4 separate regions of the Homo sapiens genome follow, and regions 2, 3 and 4 are each linked to region 1. Evidence: promoter capture Hi-C in 16 types of primary human blood cells and fetal thymus (Javierre and others, 2016). All regions are on one chromosome and are shown on one strand. The core of a region is centred on a gene start or on the middle of the fragment in contact, and the rest is flanking DNA. Distances in the headings are between cores, read along the strand shown. Region 1 holds the start of ARL5B (ARF like GTPase 5B). Region 2 has its middle 6.5 kb from the start of COMMD3. Region 3 holds the start of DNAJC1 (DnaJ heat shock protein family (Hsp40) member C1). Region 4 overlaps MLLT10 (MLLT10 histone lysine methyltransferase DOT1L cofactor).

Region 1 (3,188 bases), core at 251-2,750:
CAAAAATGCTTTGTTCTTTTCAGAAATGGTTTCTTAGAAATCCGAAAGCCAGAAAAAAAAAAAAAAAGCAGAATGTGGTTTACATCCATGTCTAACAATTGAAGAAGCTGTTACGGAATCTAAAGTTTGTTTTGTGATAATGAAGCTAGGACTAAAAATGTCCTTTTAAGCCATTACTTACACAAACACAAAATTATTCACATTTATGGTCCAACTGATAGTCATGAAAGTTAAGTTTGCATAGGGTCAGTACATTCTTTTTCCTCTACATAGGAGGTTGAAACTTGCCTTTAATGTTGTAACGTTGGAGCATATTATCCTGCATCTAAGTCTTAAAGGGTCTTTAAACCATAGCACTGGGAGGACGTAAGTCATACATTCTCCTTGTACAGGTTAACTCAAGAGTTTGGCATGTTAAAAGGCCACGTTGCCAAGGTTAAAATCCAACCATCTGACTGAAGTCAGAGTCTAAAAAAATTTTAAGCTTGCTCCTCCGTCAACTGGTTTCAAGGACATTCAGTTTCGTTTCATGCCAGGCTGTGAAGCTTTTCTTTTCAATGCTAGAACCTAACCATGGAAAGTGGAATTGAAAACAATTACACAGCGAATTGGCTTATGCGTGGACTTCGATCTGGGATCCACGAACATACCTAATGCTTGGCAAAATGGAGAGGGGTGCTATGTGTTATTATTATGTGTTATTATTAATCACATAACTGAACTCTGTGGCTCCAGGCCTTCCATGGCTCGTCTCCCAATCAATTCTTTTCAGAACTAAGAATCACGACAGGGGCCGGGCGCGGTGGCTGAGCCTGCAATCCCACCACTTTGGGAAGTCGAGGCAGGAAGATCGCTTGAGCCCAGGAAATTGAGTCCCCCTGGGCAACACAGCCCGACCTCGTCTGCAATCGATCAATCAATCAATGAGTACATAAATGCATAAGCCAATGAATGAATACGTGAATGAATAGATTAATAAATGAATGAAGAAGAATCACGGCAGAACTCCTAACCCCTAGCACGCCTGCCTAGGGGAACAGGAATAAGTCAGGAAAGAAACACTCTTCACTTCTGTGAGTTTTCTAAGAGCAGCAAACGGCGGCTGCTCACTTAGAGAACCTATGGTCTTTCCTGGTTTTAGAGGTCAGGGAAGCAGCTGCTAGCAGCAGAGACTCAAATCAAAGGGGAGTCCCACAAACGTTTTGAAGGCTGACATCAGAAGGAGCACGCACCAAGGGAAATTTCCCACCCCCCCGCGATACCGCAAATTCCCAGCCGCTGGCCGTTTGGGACTCTCCTACCGGAAGTGAAACCGAAGAAAACGCCACGTCGAAGGCGTGGGTTGCCGTAAGTGCGCCGTCGTCACGCGCCTAGCTTCCGGCGATGGGTGGTCCTGGGATCCGGAGGGGAGGCGGGGTGGAGGCGGGGCTTGGGGCTGTGGAGAGGCTGTGGTAGGTAGGTGGGTACAGACCGAGGGGACTACGGGTCGGCGTTGGGCTCAGTGGGCTCGAAACAAAGGGCTGTCCGGTGGGGATTCGTCGCGGCGCCTTCTGAGTGGTCGGGTCGAGGCTTCTCGGCCTAGCAGTGCCCTCGCTGCGCGATCTCAGGCGGGTTCTCCTCGGCTCCGCGCAGCCCGCGCCGCGGTGGGGGACCCGGCGCAGCGGCACCTGCTGCCGAGGGACCCCGCGGCCCGCCCCGGTGCTCGTGATGGGGCTGATCTTCGCCAAACTGTGGAGCCTCTTCTGTAACCAAGGTGAGAAGAATGGAGCTGCGCGGCGGCTCGAATCCGAGGCAGAGGGTCCCGCCGCCGATGGGGACACCGGAGACAGGGGACAGAGCGTTCGGAGACGCGGAGGAGGAAGGGACTTAGGCCAGGGGGCGGGCAGAAACTCAGTGTTTTAGACCTGGAGGACGTACAGGAGAGACCTGACGTGTGGGAGAAATAGGGAGGCAGAAGAGAAGGTATTTGGCGTCCCAGAATCCAAACTGAGAATGTTTGGATATTGGCGAAGTAAAGCGGGATACAGCTAATGATGCCAGGAGGCGTATGGAGGGCCTTTCTCGTCTTTATTGAAGCGTGCTTGTGTCTATGTGTATCCCCAGGATAAGTGTCCGCCCAGAAACCTAGAACTTTTTTTTTTTTGAGTAATGTAGGTGCTTTGTTTTCCCGCCCTGCAGTTTGAGCCGTAAGCCAGTGCACTTTCACTCTGATTTCGCCTCCTTTCCTCTAGGACTTGGGAATGAGTTGTCCTATTCAGATGCACGAGTTTTCCAGCATCTTCATTGTAAACTTTTTTTTTTAAAGCATTTAGTTCAGAAACTAAATGCTTTTCGGTTTTGTGTAAGACGTTACGTGTCCGTAATTAGTCTGTAACAGGTAATGAGACACCTGGAAGTGGCAGGTCCAAAGGGCCGAGAAGTTGCAAAACCTGTTCTGAATCAGAATGAGATGTGATGTCTTCTGAAGAGAGAAAACACCCAGACCAAAAAAGGGGCCGACGATAAGTTAAAGTTTGAGGCGTCCTTTGAACAGAATGGTTTCTTAGTAATTGAAACCAGTTTTGAAAATCAACTCGTTTCATTTTACATTTAAGAGCCGGGCATCGTTAATAAGCCAGTTTTATTTCCTTTTATGTTGGTACCAATTTGTTACTGCTAATGTAGGTATCTAATCTTTTTCTGGATTTAAGAAGTTGTGGAGGTAATGGAATGGCTTTAGTTGACTTGTTCTGTAGATTGATAAGAACACTAAAGCAGTCTTTTTCAAGGTTATAAATATAGATACAGGCACACACATGTGTATATATATGTATATGCCTGTATCCAGTAACCACAGATAATATTACTTATCAAATGATTTCAAAGTGAGCAGAGCTTCACACTTTGTGGGTATTATCCATACATTTAAAATATTATTTTTATTTATTTATTTTTTGAGGCAGAGTCTTTCTCTGTCGCCCAGGCTTCAGTGCAGTGGCGCAATCTCAGCTCACTGCAACCTCTGCATCCTGGGTTCAAGCGATTCTTGTTCCTCAGCCTCCCGAGTAACTGGTATTTACAGGCACCCGCCACCACGCCCGGCCTATTTTTGTATCTTTAGTAGAGACAGGGTTTCGCCATGTTGGGCAGGCTGGTCTCGACCTTCTGACTTCAGGTGATCTACCCACCTCGGCCTCCCAAAGTGCTGG
Region 2 (3,188 bases), core at 207-2,706, 3.7 Mb after region 1:
CTATGTAAAGTTTTTTTTTTTTTAAAAAACCATCTTAGGAATCATATTGAATATGTTTAAATCTAGCCAAGTTTTTATCTTTATACTTTTCTTAAACTTTAATACCATAAAAGAAAGCTAAGATAAAAAGCTTAAGCAAACACAGTTAGATTGTCTTTATACTATTTATAGCAATGGACAGATACTTAAAGCTTACTTAGCTAAAGATTTAAGTCTGTTACTTTATGACATATGCTTTCCCCCAACCCCTGTTAACACGGCAGGATGTTTGCAAAATGACTACTCTCCTGTAGTGACTCTTGATTTTAACCTAACAGACTATCATTATGACTCAGTTTGAACATTTGTCATCATAGATGTCATAGTTTCTACAAACAGACAAATATTGATCATAGCAACTTTTAGAAATAGAATAAAACCAAAATGAAATTAAAATTAATTTAAAAGTATTCGTTTGAAAACACTCTTTTAGGTTTCTAGAAGCACTTTAATTATTGGTTAAACTGACTTCTAAACATCTGTATTTTATATTTTTATTTATGTTCATCTTGCTACAAAAATAATTTAAGGCAACTTTCAAAAGTATATAAAAACATATGTAAGAATATTATTTTCCTTCTATTATAATTGACAAGTGCAAAATCAATTTTTTTCCAACATTTCCAGTATACACTGTTGAAAGTTCTTTATAAAGAAGAATGTATATTGCTATTGAAACTTATAAAACAAAATATGTATGTCTTTATTGATACTTTTGGTCTTATAAAACTATTTTTTATTTCAATTCATAAACATTTTAATTATTGTTTAAGCAAAAATAAAAGTTTTCTTATAGATCTATCAACTACTCACCTATATATCACAGCTAGGCCTAATTTAAAATTTTCTTTCATTTTCAAATTCTAAGAAAACCATTTGAAAATTCAGTTTTCTTAGGGCCTTGTTTACCCACATATTTCCATCTACATTGTTATTCTTTAGCAAATTTCTCCTGTTTTTGGTCTGTAATTTATAGAGCACTAAAAGTCAAATAAAAGTTGCCAATTATCTGATTAATTTTGATTTAGAATACTGCTGCTCTAAATGATCCGGCCTATTTCTGTTAGCATTAAAAAAAAAGAAAAAAGAAAAAAAGAAAAGAAAGTTGAGTAATTACGCCAGTAATTCAGGTCCAAGTTTCTAATTACATGGACTAAACTGACTATATAAATACAATTCTCCCTTTCACCTGTTGCTAGTCATTATTTTCTTGGTGTTTTGTTACATTAAAAAGATTTTATAAAACTTGCCTCCCCATCCCCTTTCATAAAATATAGATTAAAATGCTTACACAAAGAAAATTAATTTTGAAAATAACATTTGAGAGAGTTAGAAAAACATTTATGTTTTAACCTTAATAAAACAATGAAACAAAAGTTCAGGGAAAAACTGAGTATATGGGAAGAAACACAGTGGAAAAGTTTAATCTATTTTTTTAGGTGCTTGTTTTCTCAAAACTCTGTAAAACTACTTTCTAAACATTCACCACGGTGTAAAAATCAGCTACGTATAAACAATTCAAAGTATTTTCTGAATAGTTCTAGCTATGTAACAAATGTGAAAAAGCTGAACACAATTATTCTACTAGGATTTTTAAAAATGTAGTTTTTAGACTGACTTATCCATAAAATGGCTTCAAGTCTATATTTAATTTGAAAAGGGGGATAAAATCAGTATTCTGTTGAATATAACAACCATAATAGAAAAGTTAAATTCTTTTTTTTTGAGACAGAGTCTCACTCTGTTGCCAGGCTGGAGTGCAATGGCACGATCTTGGCTCACTCAACCTCCGACTCCCAGGTTCAAGCAATTCTCCTGCCTCAGCCTCCCTAGTAGCTGGATTACAGATGCATGCCACCACGCCTGGCTAATTTTTGTATTTTTGGTAGAGACAGCGTTTCACCATGTTGGCCAGGATGGCCTCGATCTCCTGACCTCATGATCCACCCACCTCGGCCTCCCAAAGTGCTGGGATTACAAGCGTGAGCCACCGCGCCCGGCCCAAAATGTTAAATTCTTAACCAGTATCATTTTAAATATTGTACACAATTAAAAATATTAAAACACTTATCTAGGCTTTCATTGCCATGTAAGCTCTTTTGAAATATTAATTTTGGTTTAAATGCTTACTTTAAATGAGTTAAAAGTACTTTAGCTGTAAAGTCTCCTTAACTGTTTATAATGTATTTAATGCAAATCATCCCTTCTTATATACTAACTTCCATTCTAAAATGCTTCATTTGACAAGTGAATATAGTTACATTTTTCAGTTTATAAGCAATTATACTGTTACTTTGGTTTTAATCTACAAAAACCTTTATTTTTGTTTTCATTTTTGTTTGTAAAATTATAGTTCCTTAAACAAAATATACTTATTTGTACACATTTTAACATGTAAAAAGCATGTTCTCAAAATACAAACTTGAAAAAGTTACTGGCTTTCAACAATAATATCCCACAGCATAGGCCCATTTGTTCCATTTTTTGCTGGAATTCGTGAAACCAACCCAAACTCCAATTTCTAAGGTATGAAAAAACACAGAGATTCCAAATCCAGACCTAAAAAACGAAGAGACTCTGTTAGACATTCTCTGCTGTTGTAGTCTAAATGTAGGACATCTTGAAACTGATTAGATTCTGGACAAAACAGATGATCTTTCAGTCTTTTCCAAGCCTTACTAATGAAGCTTAGTTGAATTCATTGTAGCTAAAAGAATCTTGGATTGTGTCACAGAAAATAAACACTAAATAAGCTTTCTGTGACACTTCTCAGGTCCTTTCTCTCTTCCTTCCTCTTCCTCTTTCCCCCCTTTCTCTCTCTTCTTCCCTCCTTCCCTCCCTCTTTTTAAAGATATAAAACAATTTAAAGGACTGTCTGTGTACACATGGAAGAATTAGATACAGTCATCAATGTAAACTTGTTTCATGTCTCTTCTTCACTTTACCCTCCTACAGCTAAGCCATGGGCCATCCTGGCTGATACCAGATCAATGATATAGGAAACTGAAGTGGTGACGTTTATAATTTTAGTACAGAAAAAAAAATCAACCTGCTGTTGAGGAGGTAACTGTGCTTATTATCTAAATGGTCTATTTGATGGAATTTATTAGGTGATTGGCCAGTTCCTAATTTTCATATAAATTAACTGG
Region 3 (3,188 bases), core at 236-2,735, 3.3 Mb after region 1:
TTCAAAGCATTGTACGAAGGGCTCAATCAGATCGTGTGAAGTGTACATTTTTCACCCCATAAGCCTGAAATCAGCGAAATGTTATCTTCTCCTTCGCACAAGGCTTCAGGTAGAGACTGGATATCTACCCTCACTCAACCACCCTCAATGGTAGAACTAAAAAGCAACAAATGGATTTTACAAGTTAATGTCTTAAGCTATAGAAGAAAACGAAATGAAACAAAAGGAAAAGGGGAAAAAAAAACCCATTCCTACATTACTGACCGGGGGCTTCTCTTCCAATCGCATCCCAAGTCCTTTGCTGCTCAAAAAACTTAACACCTCCAACCTGGTTAGACGCTTCAAATTCCTCCAGATTTCTAAACTGCGAAAGCGAAACAAACATCTACCTAACAGGCTAAAAAGATGACGAAGTACAAAGTAAGAAAAACTTTTGCAACACAGACACTGGCCACAGTGCATTCCTACTTTCCCAGAAGGGAAGAGGAGGGGAGGCAGCTGAAATAAGAATAAGGATGAGGTAAGTATCGGTGGAAGATGACAGTTTAGGGTGAGAAGCGGCTGCTCTTTCTCACATTCAGGGGGACAGGAAGGCAAAAGGTAGGTGTTAAATTAAAAAAAAAAAAAAGTCTACCCACACCACTCTTCGTTCTTCCTCCAGCACAGCTGGAGGGGGAAGGCTCTTCCCCAGAACGCCGGAGCAGAGAGAAGGCATCGCCACCCTAGGCTAGTGGCGCCGTCCAGCCTGTCACTGGGGCTGGGACTAGAAAAGTTGAAGCAGGAGTAAAGATCTGGGGAAGACGGACACGTCCTTCCAAGGCTGAGGACCCCGGTGACCCGAGCTGAGGGCAGCCAGAGCCCGGGGTGACCAAGCCCTGCCCTACGTGTCCGGCTGTCTCTGAGGAACCGGGTCGCCTGACGCCTGCCCTGGCCCCTCTCCGCCCGGCCCCGCGCGCCTCCTTGCTTACCTGCTGCACCCCGAGGAACTGGTAGAAGTTGAGCTGCACCTCCTCCACTAAGTCAAACAACTCCAGGTCTCCGCTCTCCCAGCCGCGCGCCGGCGCCACGGCGGCCAGCAGCAGCAGCAGCAGCCACAGCAGCGGCGTCCGCGGCGGCGGCGGCGGGAACGGCACCAGCCCGAGCTGGCGGCGTCCAGGAAGCTGCGCCGGCTGGGAGCAAGGAGCCGTCATCGCGCTGGGCTCGGAAAGGTCACCCGCCGCGCAGCTCCGTTGGCCGAGAGCTGGGACGTGGCGGGCGGCGCTGGCTGTGGGGAACAGCGCCTGTCAGTGAAAAGCGCGGGCAGGCGCACCGGAGCGGCCCGCCAGGTGGCTGGCCCCAGACAGAGCGCGGAGGCGGCGGGAGCCGGCTGCCGGACGGGCGGGTGGGTAGGCGGGCGGGGCCGCAGCCAGCGCTACGTTCCGAAGACCCTCGCCCCCAGGCCTACACACAGCTGTAGAGGCAGCGCCCGGCGCCTGGGCTGCACAGTGGGTGAGGCTTCCCTTCGCCTCAGCCTATCCCAGGCCTCGCTTCCGGTGACATCATGTCTCCTAGCAACCGCGGGAAGGGGGCGTGGCCGGAAGCCTGGACGCCTGGCGCCCCAGATCTGGGCCTGGGTGAAATGCCTCTCAATCACTGGCGCGCACGGAGCAGCTGTACCTGCGCCCACATGGGCTGAGAGACAGGGACGGTTATAGCCATCTCGCGTCCATCTGGAACGCCCCACGTGGACTTCCCCTGAAATAGCTACTGTCTTCCTCTCCCCTAGCTATCGAACACTAAAAGCATATTTGAAGCCTGATTAATTGATTATGGCTTCCATGCATTTAATTAGTCCATCAGCAAAGAAGACAGGACAAGTTGAACCAGGTTCTAAAAGGGGCAAATCTAGTAAGTAGAGAGAGGTAGAGCAGAAAAGGAATTGAAACCAAAACAAAAAGTATACTTCTAATTATGAATTAAGATTTACAGGCATAATACCATAAAATGACCTGGTAGAATTAACAGTTAATAATGGTGACTCAATCATAGTTGGAGGAGAAATGTAGTTTATCCACCTTAGCCCACCTCCAGTTGGGGTTCCTTTGAAAACAGACCTCAATTGAGATGTTTCTGTTTTAAAAGACAGGCTAAAAACCTCCTCTCCCATAACAATGTCTCACCTTCTAGTCTTGCATTGCTTCTGTTCAAGCTCTTTTCAAGTTATTTTCTCCACCACAATTCTCTTGTGTGGACTTTATTATTGTGTGCTTAGCACAATGCATAGCACATGAGAGCACTCAATTAGTTGAACTGAATCCTGTGACTACCTCCCTACCACCATTCCCCCTACCACAGATTTTTAGTTTATTTATTTATTTATTTAGAGACGGAGTTTTGCTCTTGTTGCACAGGCTGGAGTGCAATGACACCATCTCGGCTCACTGCAACCTCTGCCTCCCACGTTCAAGCAATTCTCCTGGCTCAGCCTCCCGAGTAGCTAGGATTACAGACTCCTGCCACCATGCCTGGCTAATTTTTTGTATTTTTAGTAGAGACGGGGTTTCACCGTGTAGGCCAGATTGGTCTCAAACTCCTGACCTCACATGATGTGATCTACCCACCTCAGCCTCCCAAACTGCTGGGATTACAGGCATGAGCCACCACCCCCAGCCTAGTTTATTTTTGGTTATATCAGTTTTCTTAAAGTGAACGTCATCTTTACCAAGTCCCTAAATTAGGTTACTGTTTATTCAATGAACAAAACATCGAAATAAGATGAAATTAATGATCTTAAGCACTACTTTTACATATTATAGTAACATTCATCTTTTCTCCTAATTTGATCATTAGATTAAGTGCAATAAAACCTTTGAAACTGGTGCCATATTGCCACAAATCTGGGATTCTTACCCCGATCTTGTAGCAGACAGCCTAGTATTTCCCTTTTGAGTTTTACCTTTATGTTGTCTGAGAACCTCGGGGACTTACTCCATCTAAAGATAGCCCATCCTCTTTCTAAGGCCATGCTGAAACAGAATTGGATTCTATTAATAATACTTCTCATGGACATAAGGTATTACTCAAAAATTCATGCTGCCCAGCTCCAATGACACTTGTCCACCCTGAGATGATCTTCTTGCTTGTCCAGGTTCCTGCAAAGACCACAGTGATATTCATATTTAGACTTCTAGCTTGGCCTCTTTACCTAT
Region 4 (3,188 bases), core at 263-2,762, 3.0 Mb after region 1:
ACTTAGTATGTGCCACACACTGTGTTAAGCAGTTAATAAGCATTAAGTGTTATTACTCATTATATAGGACAAGAAACTGAGACAGAATTCTCTTAGGTTTTAAGTGATGGAGATATGCATTTTCCCTGGGTCCAGAGCCATTTAATTAGACAGCTCAACAGATGTTTGCTGATGAGGGTCTAACACCACACTAGTGTAATGTCAGTCATACTTTAAGCAAAGAGATCCCTGAACAAATTTGAACCAATAATTTAACTTTCAGCAATAGTGTTTCTTATTGGTATGAAAAGTTAATTTTTCCTTTGGACTAATTTGAAATTGAGAAATCATTTAGTAATTGTGACAACAAGAAGCTTCCCCCCATATAATAAATAAGTAGGAAGGAGAAAATGTATACAGTCATCCTTTGGCATCCATGGGGACTTGGTTCCAGGACCTCCTGCAAATAAATACCCAAGTCCAAGATGCTCAAGTTCCTGTTATAAAACGTCATAGTATTTTCATATAACCTATGCACATCTTCCTGTGTACTTAAATCATTCTTTTCTAGATTTCTTATAATACCTAGTATCATGTAAATGCTATGCAAATAGTTGTTATACTATATTGCTTAGGGAATCATGACAGGAAAAAAAGTCTGTACACATTCAGTACAGACTCAATTTTTTCCTCCAAATATTTTCTATACAAGGGTGTTGAATCCCCAGATGTGGAATCCCACAGACACAGAAGACAACTGTATTATGTATTACATCATCACAAGTTGTTTTTCATGATGCTGTTTTTAAAAGATTGACTTTCTTGAATGACAGGTCGATAATTTAGTAATGTCGAAGATGACCTTTGTAAGCACCTGTTGTTTAAACTATAACATTCACTATAATACTAACTCCTGAGGCTAGGGGCTGTTTCTGACATACACCACTGTATCCCCACTGCCAGCACAGTGCTTTGGACATAGTAAACGTTAAACATTATTTTAAGAAATGAATGAATACCATTAGTTGTCTCGTGAGTGTATGTCATGTGGTTAGAAGTATGCTGTATGATTTTGTACTTCCCCTCTGAGTGTTTATAGCTAAGCTGTAAGACATATTACTTTATTTGTAAAGCTTTTCTTTTCTTTTCTTTTCTTTTTTGAGCTGGAGTCTTGCTCTATTGACCAGGCTAGAGTGTAGTGGCCTGATCTCAGCTCACTGCCACCTCTGCCTCCCGAGTTAAAGCAGTTCCCCTGCCTCAGCCTCCCTAGTAGCTGGGACTACAGGTGCGCGCCACCACACTCAGCTAATTTTTGTATTTTTAATAGAGACAGGGTTTCACCATGTTGGCCAGGACAGTCTCCATCTCTTGACCTCATGATCCACCTGCCTCAGCCTCGCAAAATGCTGGGATTACAGGTGTGAGCCACTGGGCCCAGCTATTTTTAAAGCTTTTCATGTAGTATTTATTTTGCCAGTTTATGATGAAAAGTATTATTAAGTTGGAAAAGATCATGGAGAGGTTGAATTGTACTTTGAAGTAGGCAGAAGACGAAGGCCAATATTACCTGAAAAGAAAGTAAAGGTCTGTTTGAGGGAAAAGCCTAATAAGAACAGGAAGCTTGTATTTGTGGCACTGTGAAGGTGATGTTTATAGGGTAGGATGGGTTCATTGAGAGATTAATGCCAGACTGAAGAAATCAAACTGATAGGCTAATGATCTTTTTCTTAAAATAACTATTCTGGCTAGTTACCATTATGAAAGAATTTCATTAATGGAAAAGAAAAAAAATGCTATCTCATTCAGCTTGGCAATGCTAATATAATCTCTTATTTGAGTACGTTTAAGTTTCTTAGGAACTCTTTAGTTACTCTCTCATTTGATCCTTGGAACAGCCTTGTGAAATAGGACAGCTCCTCTTGATGTTGTTATTTCTCCTTTACAACTAGGATGTAAAGCAGGAGTAGAGTCAGGTTCTAATGTGATTCCCTCTTGAAATTATTGGCTAAAAGCATCAGTTTTAATAGTAATCAAAATTCTCTCATGACATGTTCAAATTGTAGCAGAGTACATTTTTTCTGGGAACTGTAGATCAAATTAGAGTAGAAGCCTAGAAAACACCTATAAAATGTTTGATTCAGAGTTCAGATTCTAAAATTTGTATTATGGATTGAAGTGTGTCCTGATAAATGGCCTGTTTTATAGTGACTTGTACAAAATGGAAAATTAGTGTGTTTCTAAAAGTGATTTCTAAGAGTTTTAAGTTTGGGGCTTATAGGTTTTGTTGGTTTTTTGACTGAACTCTTTCCTACGTACATTTTTTTGGGTTCTGAACAGTTAGGCACGAGGTCTTTTGAAACATCAAAAACAGTTTTGGAAGAGTTGACAATCTGTCCTTTCCTCTTCGCTATTTATCTTCACCACATTACAAAAATTTGATTTACTAAAGTGAAAGTTGAGAACATCTTTTTCTTCACTAAAACCATCTTGTTATTTTCTCTGAGAAAAGTCTGATATTCATTAACCCATTTATGCTGGAGGTTGCGCTTTTTTGTGTGTGAAAAATCAGACCTTGGTGATGACCTTGAGCAGTAGGATATAAATAACTCCCACAAGCTTAGGTTCCAGTAATGGAACACGAGGCATAAAGAACTCAAATTGCAAGGGGTTGATGGTTTAGCATTCACTTCCTTTCTTGGGGCATACTGTGTCCTTTCAAAGTACAGGTTGAGTAACCTTTATTAAAAATTCTTGAGACCATAGTATTTGGAATTTCAGATTTTTGGGAGATTTTGGAATACTTGCATTATATATACTTACCAGGTGAGCATCACTAATCTGAAAATCTGAAATCCAAAATGCACCAATGAGCATGAGAGTCATGGGCGCACTCAAAAAGTTTTGGATTTTGGGGCTATGTTTTTGGTTAAATAATATCCAAGGAATTCCCAGTTATCCCTCCTTTAAAAAAATTTTTGCCAACAGTGTTAGCCATAAGGGAATATCAGTTGTTTCCAGGATTAGCAAACCCAGGTCCTTTGAGTCACAGCCTTGGTCCTAGTTTTATCAATTATTTTTCCCTCAGAAAGCCATATAGAAATTAATTTCTCATATTCTGAGCAGATTTTGCTTTTATTAGTGTTTTATTCCTTGTTCTCTGCACCCTCTGCTTGTTCTTCTCGTTTGGGTGGAATAAAAGAGTAAGGGTA

What was found. Contacts are between HindIII fragments. The CHiCAGO score rates a contact against its expected background, and 5 or more counts as called.
Region 2: a contact is called between a fragment that was not itself captured here and the fragment with the promoter of ARL5B in region 1, in 1 of 17 cell types (total B cells). The highest score is 7.5, in total B cells.
Region 3: a contact is called between the fragment with the promoter of DNAJC1 here and the fragment with the promoter of ARL5B in region 1, in 1 of 17 cell types (total B cells). The highest score is 5.5, in total B cells.
Region 4: a contact is called between a fragment that was not itself captured here and the fragment with the promoter of ARL5B in region 1, in 1 of 17 cell types (total B cells). The highest score is 5.0, in total B cells.

What each region holds. Positions count from the first base shown.
Region 1 is chr10:18,657,931-18,661,118 of GRCh38, forward strand. ARL5B (ARF like GTPase 5B) reads left to right here and starts at 1,501. Exons shown (of 6, transcript NM_178815.5): 1 at 1,501-1,753. The coding sequence starts at 1,708. It also overlaps a transcript of NSUN6 not described here. RefSeq lists enhancers at 330-449, 1,150-1,279 and a silencer at 1,590-1,669. The HindIII fragment of the contact is 6,724 bases long and covers 544-3,188 here.
Region 2 is chr10:22,308,290-22,311,477 of GRCh38, forward strand. No RefSeq gene overlaps it. Among named protein-coding and RNA genes, the nearest start is that of COMMD3, 6.5 kb to the right of the region's middle. The HindIII fragment of the contact is 2,535 bases long and covers 190-2,724 here.
Region 3 is chr10:22,002,245-22,005,432 of GRCh38, forward strand. It overlaps DNAJC1 (DnaJ heat shock protein family (Hsp40) member C1), which reads right to left and starts at 1,486. Exons shown (of 12, transcript NM_022365.4): 1 at 969-1,486. The coding sequence starts at 1,190. RefSeq lists a silencer at 1,120-1,489 and enhancers at 1,150-1,650, 1,530-1,579, 1,610-1,739. The HindIII fragment of the contact is 6,929 bases long and covers 1-3,188 here.
Region 4 is chr10:21,676,984-21,680,171 of GRCh38, forward strand. The region is part of intron 11 of MLLT10 (MLLT10 histone lysine methyltransferase DOT1L cofactor); the gene reads left to right. Among named protein-coding and RNA genes, the nearest start is that of MLLT10, 140 kb to the left of the region's middle. The HindIII fragment of the contact is 170 bases long and covers 1,428-1,597 here.